Linked DNA regions of Homo sapiens: all the other regions are linked to region 1. The links are contacts of gene promoters, found by promoter capture Hi-C in blood cells and fetal thymus (Javierre and others, 2016). All regions are on one chromosome and are shown on one strand. Each heading gives the region's core, a stretch centred on a gene start or on the middle of the fragment in contact. The rest is flanking DNA. Distances are from core to core; before and after follow the strand shown. Region 1 holds the start of NUP107 (nucleoporin 107). Region 2 overlaps CCT2 (chaperonin containing TCP1 subunit 2). Region 3 has its middle 48 kb from the start of IFNG-AS1. Region 4 overlaps CPSF6 (cleavage and polyadenylation specific factor 6).

The links. Contacts are between HindIII fragments. The CHiCAGO score rates a contact against its expected background, and 5 or more counts as called.
Region 2: a fragment that was not itself captured here is called in contact with the fragment with the promoter of NUP107 in region 1 in 1 of 17 cell types (monocytes); the score reaches 6.8 in monocytes.
Region 3: a contact is called between a fragment that was not itself captured here and the fragment with the promoter of NUP107 in region 1, in 1 of 17 cell types (activated CD4 T cells). The highest score is 5.1, in activated CD4 T cells.
Region 4: a fragment that was not itself captured here is called in contact with the fragment with the promoter of NUP107 in region 1 in 1 of 17 cell types (monocytes); the score reaches 5.4 in monocytes.

What each region holds. Positions count from the first base shown.
Region 1 is chr12:68,684,592-68,690,047 of GRCh38, forward strand. It overlaps NUP107 (nucleoporin 107), which reads left to right and starts at 2,387. Exons shown (of 28, transcript NM_020401.4): 1 at 2,387-2,482; 2 at 4,371-4,462; 3 at 4,942-5,028. The coding sequence starts at 2,475. It overlaps LOC100507250 (a long non-coding RNA gene), which reads right to left and starts at 2,268. Exons shown (of 3, transcript NR_038930.1): 1 at 2,146-2,268; 2 at 1,272-1,426. It also overlaps the pseudogene RPL7P42. The HindIII fragment of the contact is 6,312 bases long and covers 1-4,349 here.
Region 2 is chr12:69,595,136-69,600,591 of GRCh38, forward strand. It overlaps CCT2 (chaperonin containing TCP1 subunit 2), which reads left to right. Exons shown (of 16, transcript NM_006431.3): 11 at 2,021-2,140; 12 at 2,503-2,631; 13 at 2,833-2,936; 14 at 3,187-3,286; 15 at 4,728-4,869. Among named protein-coding and RNA genes, the nearest start is that of CCT2, 12 kb to the left of the region's middle. The HindIII fragment of the contact is 1,278 bases long and covers 2,063-3,340 here.
Region 3 is chr12:68,035,123-68,040,578 of GRCh38, forward strand. It overlaps the pseudogene HNRNPA1P70. Among named protein-coding and RNA genes, the nearest start is that of IFNG-AS1, 48 kb to the left of the region's middle. The HindIII fragment of the contact is 1,749 bases long and covers 2,072-3,820 here.
Region 4 is chr12:69,252,966-69,258,421 of GRCh38, forward strand. CPSF6 (cleavage and polyadenylation specific factor 6) reads left to right here. Exons shown (of 10, transcript NM_007007.3): 3 at 86-189; 4 at 3,732-3,877; 5 at 4,767-4,940. Among named protein-coding and RNA genes, the nearest start is that of CPSF6, 16 kb to the left of the region's middle. RefSeq lists a silencer at 1-10 and an enhancer at 1,086-1,135. The HindIII fragment of the contact is 1,296 bases long and covers 1,825-3,120 here.

The DNA.
Region 1 (5,456 bases), core at 1,137-3,636:
ACCATGGAGGGTATTGAAGACAAGAAAAAGAAGATTCCTGCTGTGCCAGAAACCCTTTAAAAATGTGAGGGAAGGCTGGGCACTGTGGTTCATGCCTGTAATCCCAGCACTTTGGGAGGCCGAGGCGGGTGGATCATGAGGTCAGGAGTTCGAGACCAGCCTGGCCAGCATGGTGAAACCCCGCCTCTACTAAAAATACAAAAATTAGCTGGGCATGGTGGTGCACGCCTGTAATCCCAGCTACTTGGGAGGCTGATGTACAAGAATCGCTTGAACCGGGGAGGCAGAGGTTTCAGTGAGCCAAGATTGCATCACTGCACTCCAGCCTGGGCAAAAGGGCAAGACTCTGTCTCAAAAAATAAAAATAAAACACATGAAGGAATTTCACAGAGCTAAAGGTCAAGTGCCTGAGAAAGAAGTTTGCCCATAAAATGCTTTGAAAAGAAAGGAGAAGGCCAGGCGCAGTGGCTCACGCCTGTAATCCCAGCACTTTGGGAGGCTGAGGCAGGTGAATCACCTGAGGTCAGGAGTTCAAGACCAGCCTGGACAACATGGTGAAACCCCATCTCTACCAAAAACGCAAAAATTAGCCGGGTGTGGTGGCAGACACCTGTAATCCCAGCTACTCAGGAGGCTGAGGCAGGAGAATCGCTTGAACCCAGGAGGCAGAGGTTGCAGTGAGCCGAGATGGCACCACTGCACTCCAGCCTGGGCAATGGAATGAGACTCCATCTCGAAAAAAAAGAAAAAGAAAAGCAAGGAGAAAGCTACATCTATGAAAAAGCTAGGCACTGTCAGATGTGGTGGCTAACCCCTGTAATCCCAGCACTTTGGGAGACCCAGGTAAGAGGATGGCTTGAGCCCAAGAGTTTGAGACCAGCCTGGGCAACAACATAAGACCCCATTTCTCCAAAATATTTTTAAAAAACGGGGGAGGAGAGGAGGTCAGGCATGGTGGTGCGTGCCTGTGGTCCCAGCAACCTCAGGTACTAGGGAGGCTGAGGTAGGAGGATTGCTGGAGCCCAGGAGGTCAAGGCTGCAGTGAGCCGTGACTGTGCCACTGCACGTAAGCCGGGACAATAGGACAAGATCCTGTCTCAAAAAAAAAAAAAACAAAGAAAGAAGGAAGGAAGGAAACATAATTTAAAAAATCAAGTCCAAAAAAAAGCAAGCAAGAAGTAAAAAAAAAAAGCTCAGCACTGTCACAAGAAATATATGGCAAGAAAAGCTGGCAATTTCTATATACCTGTGAAACCCAAATTGTCACTTGCCTTAAGGATCAAATGTATCAATGGTGTGAGCCCAAAACTCTGTTGCAACTTCTTCACTTTCCCCAGATCTTCAATGGCAGCTTTGTTAAACTCAACAAGGCTTCAGTTAACACGCTGAGGATTGTGGAACCATATATCACATGGAGTACCTGAACCTGAAATCAGTAAATGAACTGATCTACAAATTGGTTATGGCAAAATCAATAAACAAATTACCTTAACAGATAACGCTTTGATTGCTAGATTTCCTGATAAATATGGCATCATCTGACTGGAGAATCTGATTCATGAGATCTATGCTGTTGAAAAACTCAAGTTCCTGTGATCCTTCAAATTATCTTCTCCACGAGGGAGAATGAAGGACTACCTATTTTGTATTAATAAAAGGTATAAATGCCAGCAACAGAAAAGACTATATCAACAGGCTTATTAAACGGATAAACTGAAGCATCTAACATTATTTTTGTAATCTGGTCAGTTAATAGCCAGTCACTACTTTCAAACTGGAAAAAACAAAAACCAAAACAAAAATGTGACTGACTCCTTCAAGACCAAAATACACCACTTTTTGCCTAGACGGCACTTTGAAATAGAGGGCAATACCATCATATTTCACGCTTGCCTTTCTACTTTTTAATACAGGTGAACTTTTTCTCCTTAATAGGAAAGAACACCAAGTAAAGAACAAATAGCAGTTATGGAAAATAGTTGCAAAAACTGCAGGGGGCTACAGAACAAAGGACTGAGTGTAGGCAGAGAGATAGAGATCCCCGAGGTGTGGGGCAGAGCCCACGCATCTGAATTCCAAGAACAGGCGCTTTCTGACAGAGAATACCAGGAAATGACTTCACATTTTTCCAGACTATCAACATACTTCATTCTTCCCAGTAGGAGAACCCAGGGCCTGTTCCACGCCCACAGACTTTGGTCAGGCAAAGCGGCCGCAGGGCGTCTGGGCTAAACGCAACCAGGAACACATTGGCAAACTTTTGCGCCTGCGCCCACCGGGCGTGCACCTGTAGGCTGAAGTCGCGCATGCGCTAGATGGGAACGTTGTTTCTTCTCCCCTACCCCTTTTCTGTGGGTCTGTTTTAGGGACAGACTGCTTCCGGGTCGAAGGGCTTGCTTCCGGAGAGCGGGAAGGCTAAAACGCGGTAGCTAAACTGCAGCCAACTTTGGTTGTGTGTGGAAAAGGCTTTAGCCATGGACAGGTCAGTACTGATGGTGGCAGCTGAGCCCGAAGTCTTGCCCGTCTCGCCTGTTGGCGAAACGAAATAGGTGAAACTAGACTCCCAGAAGAAGCCAAGGAGGTCCCGGGTGCTTCCCCTAAGGCTCCTTCCCCATGCCGGGAAATTTGGCCACAAATGGGGAAAAAGCCGCTTGGCGTGCGTCGGGGTGGGGTACAGATCATAATAGTCCCTTACTTTCCCACTACGTTCTGCGATCTATTCGGCGCTTTGGGGCAGCAACACTGTTCGCTCCTGGGGTGGGCGGGGTAGGTAGCGCGGCGTTCGAAATGCTAAGTGACCAGCCTGAGATCACAAAGCCAGTCAGTGAAGATACTGGGATCTCAGCCCAGACTTTCTGATTACAAGTGCCAGCATCAGATTCTGAGTTCCCTCTATGATCTGGGTACTGTGCTAGCCGCCTACAACAAAGATCAGTTATTCAAGATCCTTCCCCTCGGGGAATTAGTTGTGTAATGGAGACAACCAAGCAGTGTAAAGTGGTAAGTGTTTGGGGGCGATTAAGTCTCCTTGTCACTGTAACTATCAGGAAGACCCCTCAAAGAAGGTAACTTTCTAGCTGGTCTTTGAATAATAAGAGTACATTATTCGTACTCCAAACATTGAGTACCTACTATGTGACTGCCATTGTTCTAAAGGCGTTGAATATATATTATTAGCTTATTTAATCTTCAGAACAAGAAAAATCCTATGAGATGGGTACTGTTATCCTTTTTTCATATATAACACTGAGACTAAAAGAGGTTAAGGAACTTGCTGAAAGTTCGGAAGCTAATAAATACAAGAACCAAATTGCCAACCTGCATCTGTGTGTCTCCAGCCTACCTGAGGCTCTTTGAGGAGTAAGTAGTTGTTGACCAGGTGCTCAAGGGGGCAAATGTAGGTCTTTGTAAAAGAAGCATATTCAGAGGTGCTAGGATATGAAAAAAAAGTACGTGTAGCTCAGTGGTCACATGCAGTATACGTTTAAAGTGATGTTTGTGGCTGAATAGAAGACTGAACCCCTAAACTGGGGTCACATTGTAAATATCATTTTAGGAAATTTTTACTTCTATAGACCAGAGAGCTATCTGAAGGTTTTTTTTTTTGTTTTTAATTTTAATTGTTAAACGTTTAAAATTGTTTCTATGTGGTTGTTTCCCATACTTTCCTGCTGAAGGAATATCTGAAGGTTTTAAGTGGAGGAAAAGCATATTAGATTCTTGTCTTAAACACAGGCCTTTTAGTCCGCACAATTTAGTTTCTAGACCTTTGAGTGAAACTGACAGGGAGTGTTGTGATGGGACAGGAGACCTCCTGGGTTGAAATAACTTGAAGGGTCATTTTGCTCCAATTTACCACAATTCTTTTACTTACCCTTCTATCTCACAAGCTCTGTTTGTTGTTGTTGTTGCAAGCTCTGTTTGTTGTTGTTGTTGTTTGTTTGTTTTTTAATAGTACCCATGGTTTAAAGCATTTTGGAGACTGCAGAAAATCTTTTAAGAGAGAATTCCTGCAGTTAGGTAACTCCTCAATCCAACAAGGGAAATAAGATTCACTTTCATGAAGCAATTATCTAAAACAGTGTTATAATATAGATTCCAAGTGTTGAAATAATTCCTTAGGAGAAAATAACATAGTGAGTACTAGAAAGTCAGAGAAGTCTTTGTGCAGGTAAGATTTGAGTAAGGCTTTGAAGAATAAGCAGGATTTGGAGCCAGGAGTGCGTTCTCAACAAAAGATCTAAGACTTGGCTACTAGAATGACTATACCTTAACTTACTCAGGGTCCTTTACTCCAACTGTGATGATAAAATTCTTTATAAATGCTATATTCTCGTTTCACTTATATAAGCTTGATTATACTACTTTAGGAGTGGCTTTGGAGAGATATCATCCCCTGTAATCCGGGAGGCAGAGGTGACACGGACTGCACGGAAACAGAGTGCTCAGAAAAGAGTTTTACGTATCCTTTGCGATTTAAGCATCATTATAAAAATTGTAACATGTTTGGAATCAGTGTTGTAGAATTTTCTTTTTATAAGAGTATTAAATGGTAGCTATAATAAAATCCTGTAGAAACTTTTTTTCACTCCACAGAGCTGTCATTTGGTAAATATAATGCAAAAATTTAATGAGATCGTATTTCCCTAAAAATAAAGATATTTCTTACTGCTGACAGCTTCTGCTGAGATTAGATTTCTTTTTATTATTTGAAAACTGACTAAAAACATTTAGTTCAGTGTGTAGTTATCTAAGACTGACATCTGATCATTTAAATGGCAGAAGCAATGAATTATTTACCCTTTGCATTGAAAAATGGTAGCCCTAAAATACTTGTTCTTGAAAAATGTATTCACATAATTTGTATAGTAAAAAGATGGTTAATTCTCATTTTAGTGATCTCTTTTCTACATGGAAAACTTTTCTTAACTCGTTGTACAGTTCAGGCATCTCAAGATGAAAATTTTGGTAATACTACACCAAGAAACCAGGTTATCCCTCGAACTCCTAGCTCATTTCGACAGCCTTGTAAGATTTTTTGCTTTTAAAGCATTTAATAATAACGGTAATTATAATAGCAACTAACATTTATTGTAACATAATTAGTATAGTATTTGGTTACGATATCAATAAGCACTAATAATAATGATTGCAGTTATTATTCGTTTGAACTCTTGCCATGTACAAGGTACTGTACTTTCCATAAACACACGGTAACTATGACATGGGTATTGTTGGCCCTGTTTTACCAAAACTGAAAGTGAGACTTAGAGAAGTTAACTAATATATACAATAAGTATGTAAATAGGCTGGATGCAGTGGCCCATGCCTATAATCTCAACACTTTGGGAGGCCAAGGTGGGTGGATCACTTAAGGCCAGGAGTTCAAGACTAGCTTGGCCAACATGGCAAAACCCTATCTCTACTAAAAATACAAAAATTAGCTGGCGTGGTGG
Region 2 (5,456 bases), core at 1,452-3,951, 910 kb after region 1:
TAGAAGAAATTATAGTGTACTAACCTTTGGAGAGTGGACTTGGTCTCATCCCAGAATGATCTCTTAAGACGTTTTTTTTAATCATTTGAGAAGCATAGTCGTCTTCTAACCAAGAGACATTTTCCTTTAATTACTTGAAGTGGGTTTACTTGCTTTAAAGTTACTTAGGAGCCATTGCGTACTTGATGCTTTAAGGTGACAAATAAACACAATTTAAGATGCTCATGTTTATGTAATTCATTCTTTAGTTCCACAAAATAAAGATGTAAGAGGCCGGGTGTGGTGGCTCACGCCTTTAATCCCAGCACTTTAGGAAGGCCTAAGTGGGCAGATCACAAGGTCTGGAGTTTGAGACCAGCCTGGTCAATATGGTGAAACCCTGTCTCTACTAAAAATAAAAAAATTAGCCAGGCGTGGTGGTGGGTGCCTGTAGTCGCAGCTACTCGGGAGGCTGAGGCAGGAGAATCACTTGAACCCGGGAGGTGGAGGTTGCAGTGAGCTGAGATTGGCGCCACTGCACTCCAGCCTGGGTGACAGAGCGAGACTCCGTCTCAAAAAAAAAAAAAAAAAAAGATGTAAGAAGTAAATGGTAATAATATATTGATGGGATAAACATATCGTAAGGTCTTGACATGAAATTGCTCTATACCCAGAAGAATGTTTATTAAGTACACCAACTGTATGTCTATGAAGGTGACCACATGGTGGCTCCCATCCTTAAAAGCTCAGTGGTTGTCAAAGGTGTATGATGACATTGGTTCTTGCAAGTGTCATTAAATAAATGTCTTGCACTGGGCATGGTGGCATGTGCCAGCAGTTTGATCTATTCAAGAGGCTGAGGCAGAAAGATTGCTTGTGCCCAGGAGGTTGTGCTATGATGGTGCCTGGTGAATAGTCATTGCGCTCCAGTCTAGGCAAGGTAGCAAGACACTCTCTCTTTAAAAAGAAAGAAAAGTCTCATGTAGAAGGATGAAGTGAAAAGTTTCATAAGCCAAGTTAGTCTTATTTTTGGATATGACGTCCCAAATATCTGTTGTGTCTCACATCTAGAACACAAAGCAGTCTCAGAATTTTGCCAGCCAAAAGTAAAAAGAACTTTATACAAATTATGAGTATAAATTAGTAGTTTCAAAGACCAGAGTCTTTATGAATTTATTATAAAATAAATAATAGAGCATTGACAGATTTATCAGTAAGGCATAGGAAAAGAAGGGTTGATTGATAATATATGCAATTCACATTATGAAAGGAGTAGTCAGCTAGAGAAAAGGATTTTGAAATGGAAACCTGACTTTTGCTTAGTTAGGAAATAGGGAACGAAGTGGCTGACCTGTTCAGTTTACAGCATGGAAGATGGAGGGAAAATAGGAATAGAAATGAGACATAAGGACTAAATTAATTTGTTCTTATTAAATTTGGTCTGGGAAATTCTTAGTATGCATTTCTTGTTTTTTTAGGCCTTAGGACATTTCATTTGTGATAATTAGAGATATCAGGTGCTTATTAAGCAGTTCATGAAGTGTATAGTGGTTGACTTATAGGACAAATATTTTCATGTCTTGTGCTGGGAATTGTATCATGAGGTCTTAGTCTTATAGGTTGGATTCAGAAGAGAATCTGAATTTAAACTCAAAAGTAACTGCTTTAAGACTCAGTTTAACCTTGGGAAGGTAGTATTGTATAGTGTGTGCTTATAGGTCTGAAGCCAGACTGCTTGAGTTTGAACCCCAGCTTTTTATATTCATCCTAGTTAGGTCTTTGGATAGGAAGGTAAACCTCTTGGCCTCATTTTTATCATGTGTAAAATGGGATAATAATGGAGCCTATCCAAGAGGATTATTTTAAAGATTAAATAATTAGTCGATATGAAGTATTTAAAAAGAGTGCCAGGAATATAATCAGCAATCAATTTTTAAAATGTGAAACACATTACCTATCATTATCTATCCATTACTGCTTATTAGAAAACAGGAATTTTAAGCCTGCTGTGCATTTAACTAATACATGTTTATGTTTATAGGTGGTGAAATTGCCTCTACCTTTGATCACCCAGAACTGGTGAAGCTTGGAAGTTGCAAACTTATCGAGGAAGTCATGATTGGAGAAGACAAACTCATTCACTTTTCTGGGGTTGCCCTTGGTGAGTGATTATGTAGATCCTGGTTAGGGTGTCTAAATTCTTGCTAGGCTCTGTTGAAGTAAAGGTTATTGTAGTTACTAGAATAGCATATCTTACAAGTCTTAACTCTTCAGAAGCATGATACATACTTTGTTTCAGTCTCTTGAGTCAACCTCATATTTACCGTGTCTTTGTGAACAGTGCATGTTCAACAGTTTTTTTTCCTTGATAACTTAGAACCATTATGAGCCTTGATTGTTGGAGAATGTATAATACAGGAAGACAGGTCAGCTTTCAGAACCCAGTAATATAACCAACACCGGCATAAATAATAGAAGGCAAACTTTTTATCCCTAAGTGGTCACTGTGTCTTTTAATTTTAGGTGAGGCTTGTACCATTGTTTTGCGTGGTGCCACTCAACAAATTTTAGATGAAGCAGAAAGATCATTGCATGATGCTCTTTGTGTTCTTGCGCAAACTGTAAAGGACTCTAGAACAGTTTATGGAGGAGGTAAGCATTTAGAAAATGTTGAATATATTTTTAATTTCTTAAAGTACAATATAAGTCATAAGTGGTTTTAATGGTTCTTACAGAAATCTTATATTGCTTTTGCACTAAATTTTAAAATGCTTGGCATATCTTAAAGTCAGTAATTCAGTATCTTGGAGACAACTAAGCATTGCAATATTTTATTGGAATTTTAATCTTTAGGCTGTTCTGAGATGTTGATGGCTCATGCTGTGACACAGCTTGCCAATAGAACACCAGGCAAAGAAGCTGTTGCAATGGAGTCTTATGCTAAAGCACTGAGAATGGTAAGTTAATCAAAATGAGAGATCCGAACTTAAGTTTTGTGGTTATTGATAGTTTTAAAATGAGTAGAAAATGAACTGGTTAATACTGCTTTTAAATTTGATTCTGGAGTTTCTCCTCTTCGTGAGCAGTAACTGAAGCAGATTTTACATTGTTCCTAAATGTATAATTTTAAAAAGCTATCCTAGTTAGGAGTAAATCAGTGGTTCTTACAGTAGAGTGAGTAGTTACTTGTTTTCTTCATTTTCATAGTTGCCAACCATCATAGCTGACAATGCAGGCTATGACAGTGCAGACCTGGTGGCACAGCTCAGGGCTGCTCACAGTGAAGGCAATACCACTGCTGGATTGGGTAAGCAATCAAGGGGAACTTTGTGGCCGTTGTTAAAAGTAACTCTTTTCACTAAGCTTTTTTTTTCTTTTGGAACATAAAGAGTTACAATAACCGTATAAAAGACTCTTTTGGACTTTGTCCTCATAATCATTACATGTGCTGGGAAAATGTGTGTGACTTTATATGCTCAGCATTTCCCAAACTTTGTTATTCCATAAGACATGTAAAACTGGTTAGAAGATTTGTAACTATTTGGTATATAACGACTATAGGATTTAAATATAAACAATACTTACATTCTGAAAAATAACATAAACTATTATGTTGTTTATACAATCAGTATTAACTTCTAATTTCATAGTAAACTTACTGCAAGATAATCTTGAGTACAGATCACAGATCTCTAGTCCATAGATAAAAGTGGCCAATGAGGCAGATTTAATTCATATTGAAAAACTTTCTGACAAGCTGTGCTGGACATTATAGAGTAGTCTTAAGAAGGTAGATAATCCTGTCATTGAACAAGAGGGAGCACCAGTTAATCTGTGAGAAAATGAAGCAGGATTCTCACAAGAAGAGAAGTTGGGTAGGTAACTTATGAATTTTCTTCCATTTGTTTTTTATTATTTGATATGTTGTCTTCTATTAATATGGGTGATCAGTAGTTGACATTATTGTTGTTATTACTATTATTATAACTGACACAATGGTCTTGCTCTGTTCCCCAGGCTGGAGTGCAGTGGCACCATGATAATTCACTGCAGCCTTGAACCCCTGGCTCAAGCAGTTCTCCTTCCTCAGCCTTCCAAGTAGTTAGGGCTAAAGGCATGTGCCACAATGCCTGACTAAATTATTTTTATTTTCTTAGAGATGGGGGGGCAGTCTCACTATGTTGTTCAGGCTGGCCTCAAGCAATCCTCCTGCCTCAGCCTCCCAAAGTGCTAGGATTATAGGTGTGAGCCACTGATCCTGGCCCCTTTTATTTTATTTATTTATTTTTTGAGATAGAGTTTCACTGTTGTTACTCAGGCTGGAGTGCAGAGGCATGATCTCAGCTCACTGCCACCTCTGCCTCCTGGGTTCAAGTGATTATCCTGCCTCAGCCTCCTGAGTAGCTGGGATTACAGGTGCCCACCACCATGCCCGGCTAATTTTTTATATTTTTAGTAGACGGGGTTTCACCATGTTTGCCAGGCTGGTCTCCAACTCCTGACCTTAGGTGATCTACCTGCCTCAGCCTCCCAAAGTGCTGGGAGTACAGATGTGAGCCGCTGCACCCGGCCCCTTTTAATTTTTTTAAAGGCTTTCTTTGAGCTCATTTGTAGGCTTATCTACCTACTGAGTAAAGTAGTTGGGTGTCCTAATTTTATTAATAGGATTAATTTTTATTATAAATCATTAGAGATGTTTTGATACTTTAGTTAAAACTGCTTTTTAGTAAATTTGTTTTTCTTTGCAGATATGAGGGAAGGCACCATTGGAGATATGGCTATCCTGGGTATAACAGAAAGTTTTCAAGTGAAGCGACAGGTTCTTCTGAGTGCAGCTGAAGCAGCAGAGGTGATTCTGCGTGTGGACAACATCATCAAAGCGGCACCCAGGTACCCTAACACTTTTCTCAGAAAAAATTACTAACAGCAAAACAAAATAGGGAGCTGTATTTATTTTATAATTAGAGTTAATGAAAAGCAGAGACAGTTTTGCCTGGATAAAAGTATGTAAGTTATTTAAAATATCACAACTCTTAACACTTAAGCCAGAAAAACTTAAGGGGAAAGAGGGATGGGCAGCTGAGGTAGCTCTTAGGATTGAAAAGGCACAGAAAGAGCCATGCTTGGAAAGGTCAAGTACTGAGGACAGTAGATGCTGTGATGCTTTCTATTGTCTTTAAACAGAATGATAGCAAAAGGAAACTGAGTTCTGTAACTAAAGTGTTCTAGGGCAAGGTCATATAGCCACACCTACTCCCAGAAATCTTCACAAGAAGTCAGTGCCCTCACCCACAGTTGAAATAACGCTTAAAAAATGTATAATACCTTGTTTGGTCTGATACTGTTTTAGAGATCAGGTATCTTTTATTAGCAAATTCTGAGTAATTTGCAATAAAGAAACTGAATTTTAACTCAGCCTTCCAGACCTACCAGACCATGGGCTTCTTTTTCATATTCCTTATTAATCTCCAGAAGAC
Region 3 (5,456 bases), core at 1,696-4,195, 650 kb before region 1:
CGACCCAACTCCAGGGCCCTAGGCTCTAACTTCTCACAAACCAGTTCCTTCAGAGGGAAGGCAGAGGTGAGAGGACAGAAGCTGTATCTTTTCTCAATCCATGTTACATGGTCACTCTTCTAAACCTTTGAAAATTAATCTTAGTCATTTCCGATGTCTGGCAGGTGGAATATGTTAAATATGTTTTCAAATTAACATATACCTAAGGAGTCCAGGTTCTAGATCGCAGTGCAGTTTCTCTCGGTTTGGAGTCTTCATTATTTGTCTGTTTCCCTGGAGCTAGGATTCATCCCTGTAGTGAGCCTTCTGACTGCAGCTGATAGCATTCCTCTACCACACCTTCCGATGGGGTGGTTCAGGACCAAGAGTAGATTCATAAATACACAAGCCTGGACATCTGAATGAGTTGGGACTTTCTGGATCAATCATCCAGCCTTGAGGTAAGCTTTCAAGTGACTAACAAACATGGCAAGCATGTGCTGCATAGGAACCTACTGACCAGATGGAAGAAAACTTAATTGAATACAGAGTCCATTTTCAAAGTTTAGAATATGGTGTGTTGAGATACGTTTGTTAGTTTTCTCCTTTCTGCTAGGGGACGCTGTTGAGGAAGCATTGTTAAAGTCTCTCTTCCCACTGCTGTCGTGTCTAAGTTGGAGTCTCCTAAAGAGCCTAAATGGTTGTGGAAGCTCCTCATTGGAGGGTTGAGCTTTGAAACAACCGCTGAGAGCCTGAGGAGCCATTTTGAGTAATGGGGAAATGCTCACAAACTGTGTAGCAATGAGATCCAAACACCAAGTGCTCCAGAGCTTTTGGGATTGTCACAAATGCCACTGTGGAGGAGGCAGATGCATGCATGGCCACACAAGGGGATGGAAGAGTTGTACAACCAAAGAGCTATCTCAGGAGAAGATTCTCAGAGACCAAGTGCCCACTTAGCCGTGAAAAAGATATTTGTTGGCGGCATTAAAGAAGACACTGAAGAACATCACCAAAGAGATTATTTTGAACAGCATGGGAAAATTGAAGTGATTGAAACCATGACTGACCAAGGCAGTGGCAAGAAAAAGCGCTTTGCTTTTGTCACCTTTGATGGCCATGACTTCGTGGATAAGACTGTCATTCAGAAATACCACATTGGGAATGGCCACAACTGTGAAGTTAGGAAAGCCCTGTCAAAGCAAGAGGTGGCTAGTGCTTCATCCAGGCAAAGAAGCCAAAATTGTTCTGGAAACTTTGGTGGTGGTCATGGAGGCAGTTTTGGTGGGATAGACAACTTTGGTCATGGAGAAAACTTCAGTGGTCATGGTGGCTTTGGCGGCAGCTGTGATAGTAGTGGATATGGTGGCAGTGAGGATGACTATAATGGATTTGGTAATGACACTGGTTATGGAGGAGGTGGCCCTGGTTACTCTGAAGAAAGCCAAGGCTATGGAAGTGGTGGAGAGGGTTGTAGAAACAAGGGCAGTGGCTTCTGTGACAGCTATAACGACGGAAGCAGAAGGGGCTTTGGCAGTGGTAGTGGAAGCAATTGCAGAAGTGGTAGAAGATACAATGATTTTGGCAAGTACAACAATCAGTCTTCAGATTTTGAACCCATGAAGGCAGGAAACTTTGAAGGCAGAAGCTCTGACCCCTATGGTGGTGGAGGCCAATACTTTGCCAAACCACGAAACCAAGGTGGCTATGGTGGTTCCAGTAGCAACAGTAGCTACAGCAGTAGCTACTGTTTTTTGTTTTTGTTTTTTTTTTTTTTTGTCGTTGTTGTTTGGAGACGGAGTCTCGCACTGTTGCCCCCGGGCTGGAGTGCAATGGCGTGATCTCGGCTCACTGCAACCTCTGCCTCCTGGGTTCACACAATTCTCCTGCCTCAGCCTCCCTAGTAGCTGGTGCCCACCACCACACCCAGCTAATTTTTTGTATTTTTAGTAGGGATGGGGTTTCACTATGTTGGCCAGACTGATCTCAAACTCCTGACCTCGTGATCCACCCGCCTTGGCCTCCCAAAGTGCTAGGATTATAGGCATGAGCCACTGTGCCCAGCCAGATTTTAATTACTGTCACGAGACAAAGCTTAGCAGGAGAGGACAGCTGGAAACATGACAAGGAAACTACAGGTTACAACAGATTTTTTAACTCAGCCAAGCACAGTCGTGGTAGGACCTAGCTGCTACAAAGAAGACATGTTTTTGACAATATTCATGTGTATGGGCAAAAATCTCAAGGACTGTAGTTGTGACCAATTGTACAACAGTTTATTTTAGTTTCTGTTCTGTAGAAAGTGTAAACCATGCCTATAAAGGGTTTTAATGTCAATTTTTCTTTGCACCCATGCTGTTGACTGCTCAATGTAATAGTCTGATCATGATGCTAATTAGATGTGTCCTTTAAAAAACAATATGATGTGTTGTAGTACATTGGTTGGCTGACATTAATGAAAAGACCTACCTATTAACATTGATAACTAAATCTGGACTTCTCTCTATAAAGCTACCCAATTGGGTCCCACTGGCTGAACTTTATATGCTTCAGTGGTGTCTTAACAAAAGACTGCCTCTAAATTAGACTAAGTGTCTTAGAACCCTGTGGTCTAGAGAAATGAAGTGAAATGTAATAGCTGGGAGAAACAGGGCATTATACATCTTGAAAGAACTATCTTTCAAGATAAACTAGCACCCCACTCTAGCCCAGCTTCATGGCTGACTCTCAGAGCATCATATTTTCCACTGATGGGCTGAAGATTCATAAATGTAGTAAACCACTGAAAACAATTGCTTCATAAGACTTCTTTAGAAAATTCCTTATGGTACTACATCTACAATGTAGAGGGCTTGTCTTCAGCTCCCTCAACATCTCAAATTTTTTGACACATTCAGTACATGCCTGTTATGTCTTTAATCCCAGAACACATGTATTTTCCCCTTCCAGATGATTTCTTTGCAGATTTCACAATGGAGAAGAGCTGTCACAGGTGGAAGTAATCATGCTGTCACAAAGATATTACTTTTTTCTTCCAGTGCTGGAAGGCAGTCAGGAACAAGCCATGCATTAGTTTAAGAGCCATGAGATGTATAACTCCAGTTTTTTAAAGCTCATAGTAGAAAATGAAGAGGGGGCAATGGCATAGCAGGTGAATGCATTTGGGGTGTGTTACAGACCAAGCAAGAATCAATCACTTATGTCTGTCAGACCAGATGGATCTGGAAACAGTTTAATCCTCAGGGCCAATGTGATATGTTGTGATATGTGATATGTCACAATAATATGTTTTCCCCGCAGGTTTCAAGCCTGTTTAAAAAAATGTTTTTAAACTTGAAAGGAAGACAAGTGACCAATATTATAAGGTTAATGCAGAAAATAATGGTCATAGTATTTAATAAACTTCAATTTATCAAATAAACCTGTATGTCAGTCTTTCTGGCTTTAGGCCTGTTTGCATCAGAATTATCCTGGAGGATTCTTAAAACAACAAAAATAAGCACACAAACATCTATTTAATCATAAGGGAATTTTCACCTAAAATAATCTCCCCCTGTGATGTAGATTCACACTGGAGTTGAGTATAATAATTTTGCTCTCATCAAAAATAATCGGAAAGAGAGGAGCTTTGGGATATGTCATTTTGATCTAAGAAAACGTATTGGCTTTCTTGCTGCTTCTTTGGATTCTTTTTTGCATATCATCTGGCAAGTGAGCAGGTGCACAGCTCTGATAAGCAGGAAGGAACCCCCGACCCCACCACCACTGCCTCAGAGCAAATACTCAATAAATGGTCACCTCATTTCCACCCCCCTCCCTACTCCCACCCACCAGGCAAGAAAGCTTAAACCTAGTAAAATCTCTGAGTGCTCAACATGGAATGGAAAACCCAGAAGAGCAAGGTTGGAAATTGTAGCTGGGAAGTCTCAAGTTCTCTGGTTCCTCCTGGAAGAGGGCATGAAGGTGGCTTTGTGTAAATATGGGCATATTGATTTTTATTTGATGAGCCATAGAAAACTAGATAGTCCAGAAATAAATAAAGGAACTGGGAATGTTGGAATCCACAAATATTGACCATCAGTTTGGGATTGGCAGCTTCTCTCCTTCCCATCTTTATTACAAGTTATAGCGCCGTTACCTTAGATGCACACATGCTTTACAATAATGTTTTTGAAGCCAAGCCCTAGAGATTTCTCAAATATGCTTCCTATGTCTTTCTAGAGGCCCAAGCACACACCTCCCTCATTTATTGCCTCCTATTCAACTTGCGCAGCTTTTATGTGGTTTACATATAAAGCTTCTGTTTAAGATTGTGTTGTCTGGGCGCGGTGGCTCCTGCCTGTAATCCCAGCACTTTGGAAGGCCGAGGCGGGCAGATCACGAGGTCAGGAGATCGAGACCATCCTGGCTAACACAGTGAAACCCCGTATCAACTAAAAACATAAAAAATTAGCCGGGCGCGGTGGCGGGCGCCTGTAGTCCCAGCTACTCCGGAGGCTAAGGCAGGAGAATGGCGTGAACCCGGGAGGCGGAGCTTGCAGTGAGCCGAGATAGCGCCACTGCACTCCGGCCTGGGCGAAAGAGCGAGACTCCGTCTCAAAAAAAAGATTGTGTTTACAGGGTTCCACTGCACATCTCATCCAGGTTTTGAAAAATATTTAGATTTTAGGAGTTGCATTCTACTCTAAGTAACAACTCCAAACCTGCACCATATTTATTGGGTGACTTTAGGCCACAGTACCATTTTGTACAGTAAGGTATCTTCTTATGAAACAGAGAAGATATGCTTACTTCCTTACAGGATAAATAATGTGATGCTGAATAAGATAAACCTAAAGTTACTAAGAGACAAACACTGTATATTAAGTGTTATAACCACACATCAGAAGACCATTTTAGACTGTGGTTTCAGGGTGCTAGAATATTCGAACCCTGTTTGCTTAGCTGACTAATCTAACTTTTTGGTAAGACTGGTTATATTTTTTTCTGTATAGAGAAGAGGTGATGAGAGAAAGTATTCTTTAGTTTATTCATTCACAATTTTTTAAAAAGGTCACTCTGGTTACCGCATGGAGAGCAGAACTGGTGGGGAATCTGTTCATGCCTGGGGAGGCCATTTAGGCACCTGCTGCCGTCATCAAGGCAAAAGATAAATACCTAAGTTTAAAAGCAAATTTATTTTTACAAGGTATAGATGTAAACAAGTCTCATATGCATGCCCAATAGATCTACTTTGTCCTACCAAAGGAGAAGGAGGATAATGCAGATATAAACTCTAGAACAAGACTGCCTTGGTTCAAATTCCAGCTTTGTCATTGTAGGACCTTGCCTAGACAAATTACTTAATTTTTTAATCTCTGTTGTCTCATCTTTAAAAGGAGGCTAATAGTAGTATCTGCCTTATAGGATTGTCAAGAATAAAGGAGTAAGTATATATGAAGTGTTTAGAATAGTTCCTTCCAGTCAATCAATGGTAA
Region 4 (5,456 bases), core at 1,223-3,722, 570 kb after region 1:
TCAAATTTCCCCTTAAAAACTAGACTGGGATAATAAAAATCTTGGTTTTATTTTAATGGTTAATGAGGGGGAAAATATCTTGCAGTGGACAACAGATGAAGACTTAACTGAAGCAGTTCATTCTTTGGGAGTAAATGATATTTTGGAGATAAAATTTTTTGAAAATCGGGCAAATGGCCAGTCAAAGGGGTAAGTTTTTTTTTTCTTTCTTTTTGATTTAGTAGCTAGTGATACAGTTTTTACAAGTTAACTTTCCTTTAAGTTAATGTTAATTACACATGTATACACATGTATACAAACAACACATGATTGTTTACATTGGAAGGAGGTTCTTGGGCAAAGATTGATACTTTTCATTTTACGTACCCTATTACCTAACACACTAAAACCAGTAGAGTGGAAATGTGGACAGATTTATTTTCTATTTTTCCCAAGTTTTCTCTATCTGTGGTTGAAATGGTTGTTGAAATGACAGTTTAAGAACCATTACTCTCCCTGTGATTAAGAGATGGGAGAAGATGGGCAACTGAATAATGTGTTACATGGATATTTTGCTTTATTTCACTACTAAACTATACAAGTGGGATAGCCTCAGCATGAGAACATTATAAATACAGATATCTAAAAGTAAGAAAATAAAATACCACTGTCCTACCATTCATTGATGTTTACTTTTAACATTTTAGTGAAGATTCTTTTGGGCTTTTTCCTAAAAATAAATAAATAAATAAATAATGGAATTATAATTCATGTGTTTTATATGTTTGATATAAGGAATAAAAATAAATACACATCCTCTCTAATGTCTAATTCTTTTGCATCATACCTGGTATGCTACTGTAATTTACCTTTCTTATTTTTGGTTATCGTGGTGGTTTCCACTTTTGCCTATTGTAAATAATGTTGCAGCAGACATCATTTTATATAAGTCTTTTGGTACAGATTTTGGATTTTCTTTTAAGGATAAATTGTTAGATGCACAATGATAAAGAATTTTCTTATTTCTTATATTGCTTACTTATCTTAGAAGATTATACCAATTTATACTAAACTGAGAATATTTTCAAAATATATGCAGAGTCTGAATACTTCTCACTAACTTTACTTATACCACTTGGTCAAAGCCACTATCATCTCTCACTTAAACTTTGGCAGTAGCTTCCTAACTGGAAGTATAGACTGCCCCCTACAGTCTGTACTCCACATAACAGAAGTTCTAAAAAAAAAATGACATTCTGCTCAATCTTCTCATGGTTTCCTGTCTGTCTCATTCTTTACCATTGTCTACAAGGTACTTTCTGGTCTGTTTTCCCACCACCTTTCTAACCCTATCCTACCACTCTTTTTCAGCCACATTAGTCTCTTTGCTGTTGGCCAGACCAATTCCTACCTAGGACCTTTAGCTGTTTTCTCTTCTTGGTTTACTTTTCCCCCTCAAATATCCACATGGCTTACTCTTTGACTTCATTCAGGACTCAAACTGTTTAAGAGTTTTCTTCCATGACCATCTTGTGCAAAGTAGCACCTTCCTATCCTGTTTCCTTTATTTCTGCTCTGATATATTTTACTCGTTTGTTGTCTCCTCTTCCAAGCCTTTAAGCTTAATGAGAACAGAGATTTTGTTTTGTTCTCTATTACTTCTCCAGCTCTAGAATGGTACCTTGCGTATAAGAAGTGGTGCTTAATAAATATTTGTTAAATTAATTTAGTTTTTTCTAAATGTTGTGACCCAAGATAATCCTGGTGCAAACAGCAGAACTTGTTGACTAAAATAAGAAGGATAATTTAAAAGATCATATTGAACATTAGGGGGAAAAGAGCTTAAGCTTCTTAAGCTACTAAGACCCTCCCTCCCTCAAATAATTTAGAATATCCTGTAACTATACGAATTGGTAATCATTCTGATTATTTTAAATTTGTTTTTCTTTTTGAGGTATAATTCATATGCCATAAAATGCAGGCTTTTAAATGTACAATTCAATGATAATTTATTATATTTATGAAGTTTAGCAACCATTACCACTGTCTCATTCCAGAACATTTCATCACTCCAAGAAGGAACCTTGTACCTGGTTAGCAGTCACTCCCATTTCCTCTCTTCCTATCTGCTGGCAACTGCTAACGTGCTCTGGATATGCCTGTTCTGGACATTTCATCTAAATGGAATCATAAAATACGTAGTCCTATGTGACTGGCTTTTTTCCTTAGCATAATGATTTTAAGGTTCATCCATGTTGAAGCATGCATCAGCATTTCTTTTTATGGCTGAGTAATATTCCACTACATGGATATAGCACTTTTTTCTTTTAATCTATCAGTCGATGGACGTCTAGGTTATTTCCACTTTTGGCTATTAAGGAAAATGCCCCTGTGAATATTTGTGTACCCATTTTGTGTGAACATGTATTTTCAGTTCTGTTGGATGTGTACCTAGGAATGGAATTACTGGGTTAATATAGTAACTCTATGTTTAAATGTTTGAGGAATTACCAGATTATTTGCCAGAGGCATTGTGCCATTTTATTAATACGTGCTCATCAGCAATGTGCAATGGTTCCAGTTTCTCCACATATTTATTTATTTATTTATTTATTGAGACAGAGTCTCACTCTGTCACCCAGGCTGGAGTGCAGTGGCGCAATCTTGGCTCATTGCAACTTCTGCCTCCCAGGTTCAAGCGATTCTCCTGTCTCAGCCTCCCAGCGTGGGACTACAGGCACACGCCACCATGCCTGGCTAATTTTTGAATTTTTAGTAGAGACGGGGTTTCACCATGTTGGTCAGGCTGGTCTTGAACTCCTGACCTCATGATCCTCCTGCCTTGGCCTCCCAAAGTGCTGAGATTATAGGCGTGAGCCACTGCACCCGGCCTCTCCACATCTTTAATACTTGTCTTTTTGATTATAGCCACCCTAGTGGGTATGGGGTGGTATCTTGTGGTTTTGATTTGCACTTCCCCAATAGTTAATGATATTGTACATCTTTTTATTGTAGCAAAAAGTGGAAGCAACCCAAATGTCCATGAACTGATGGATACATTTCTTTTAATGTTGTATATTTATAATGGAAAATTATTCACCCATAAAAGTAAGTGGTGATGCATGCTGTAACAGTGGATGAAGCTTGAAAACATGCTAGTTAAAGAAGGCTGGTCACAAGGGACCTCCTATTGTATGATTCCATTTAGATGAAATGTCTAGGATAGGCCAGTCCAGAGACAGAAATTAGGTTTAGTGGTTCCATAGGGTACAGGGATGGGAAGGAATGGGAGCGATGGCTAATGGATATGGAGTTTCTTTTTGGGGTGATGAAAATGTTTTAAAATTGATTATGGTGGTGGTTATAACACTGTGAAATACTAAAAACCACTGAATTATATATTTTGAATGACTGAATTCTATGGTATGTTATACAAGATGAACAAAAATGTGTACTCGTATAGTTAAGAAATATTTTTAGTTTTTAAAATTATTTATTTTTAGAGACAGGATCTCACTGTGTTGCCCAGGCTGGAGTGCAGTAGTGTGATTATAGGTTACTGTAGCCTCAAACTCCTGGGCTCAAGCAATCCTCGTGCCTCAACCTTCTAAGCAGCTGGGATTACAGGCATGAGCCACTGTGCCCAGCTGTTGTTTTAGATAAAAGCAGATTAAGACCTTTTTACAGAAGAATAACAGTAATAATATTGATCTCTTTTTACTTTGTATCCTCACCCCTTAAACACTTTTTAGGTTTGCCCTTGTTGGTGTTGGATCTGAAGCATCTTCAAAAAAGTTAATGGATCTGTTACCTAAAAGAGAACTTCATGGTCAGAATCCTGTTGTAACTCCATGCAATAAACAGTTCCTGAGTCAATTTGAAATGCAGTCCAGGAAAAGTAAGCAGTCCTCAGAGGCTTTTATTAAAATATGTACATTTTAACCAGTGCATTTGTTAGGTGTTATACTAGAGAAGTCATCTTAATACTAGCTCACTAGGAACTCCATTTCACAAAGTCCATGCTTTGAATTAGATTTAATCACTGGTTATGACTGTGGGCCTGTGTACGAGAAACCTACTCCTGTTCCATTTTTCTCCAGATGTAACAGACCCAATACTATACAACAATGTGCAAGTTCTATAGCCCTGCCATTCTTGTCCTATTATTTCCATCTTAGATACAGAAAGAAACTACATTCTAATTCTTAGATTAAAGGAGAGCTATGTGGATGTGTATTATGGTGGGGGAGAGATCACTGATAACCAGAAAATGTTCATTGATTTTTCTGCTTGGCAACAAGACCTTTCACCACTTGGTAAACTGAATATAGAAAAGATTTGTCATTATACATTTAAGTACATTATCTTTAAAGAGATGAGATGGATGATTATGTAATTAACAGAAATTCAAGTGGTTCCTTTTCTTTTAATGTTTTAGCACTTAAGACTTAACTGAAGAAGTGTGTTACAAAATTTAAATGATGTAATACTGAAATTAAGATATCTGTTGAAGAATTTCGGTCTTGGCTGCTGCAGAGTGCTGGTATTTTGAAAGTAACTCACGATTACCTATGGAAAATATATTTAAACCTGGATATTTTGAGTCTTTAAAAGTACCCAAATAGATGTGAATGTTTTCCTAAACCATACTTTCTTATGTAGTTTGCATAGGCACAAGGCATTTGCAAGTTAATATATTAGAAATAGAGTTGTTTTTAATAATAGTGGTTACATTTCAGAAAACTATTTTTAATAAGTGCTATTTATGAGTATTTGGATATTTGCAGCTACACAATCAGGACAAATGTCTGGGGAAGGTAAAGCTGGTCCTCCAGGAGGCAGTTCCCGTGCAGCATTTCCACAAGGTGGTAGAGGACGGGGCCGTTTTCCAGGGGCTGTTCCTGGTGGGGACAGATTTCCTGGGCCAGCAGGACCAGGAGGGCCACCCCCACCTTTTCCAGGTAAAACTTTTCTTAAATTACCATGGATAAAACATGTCTACCTAATACCTCTTTTCCTTTTCTCTCTTTTTCAAGTAATGCATTATTAATGTGACTTACTCTCCTTGTTATGCTATTTTTGGAATCCAGGAAATTTGATCAAGCATCTTGTTAAAGGAACTCGGCCTTTGTTCCTGGAAACTAGGATTCCATGGCATATGGGGCACAGCATAGAGGAAATACCCATTTTTGGCCTAAAAGGTCTTTATTTTTCTCCAAACTTGCTTGACTTATATATAGAATATTTACATCCGTCTTACTTTCTTACCTCTTAAAAAAATCCTTTCAAGATCATTTTTCCTTGTTTCACTTTCTAGCTTGGCATCAGAGTAGAATATAAGGTGGGTGATTTCACTGTAAGAAGTGTGTGTACACGGAAAGATGGAAAATATCTCTAGGCATTGTAATATTTTTTTATTAAAGTTTTCGTTTCAATAATTTTTCTTAAGCATAAATTGAGCTAGTTAAATTTGTAAG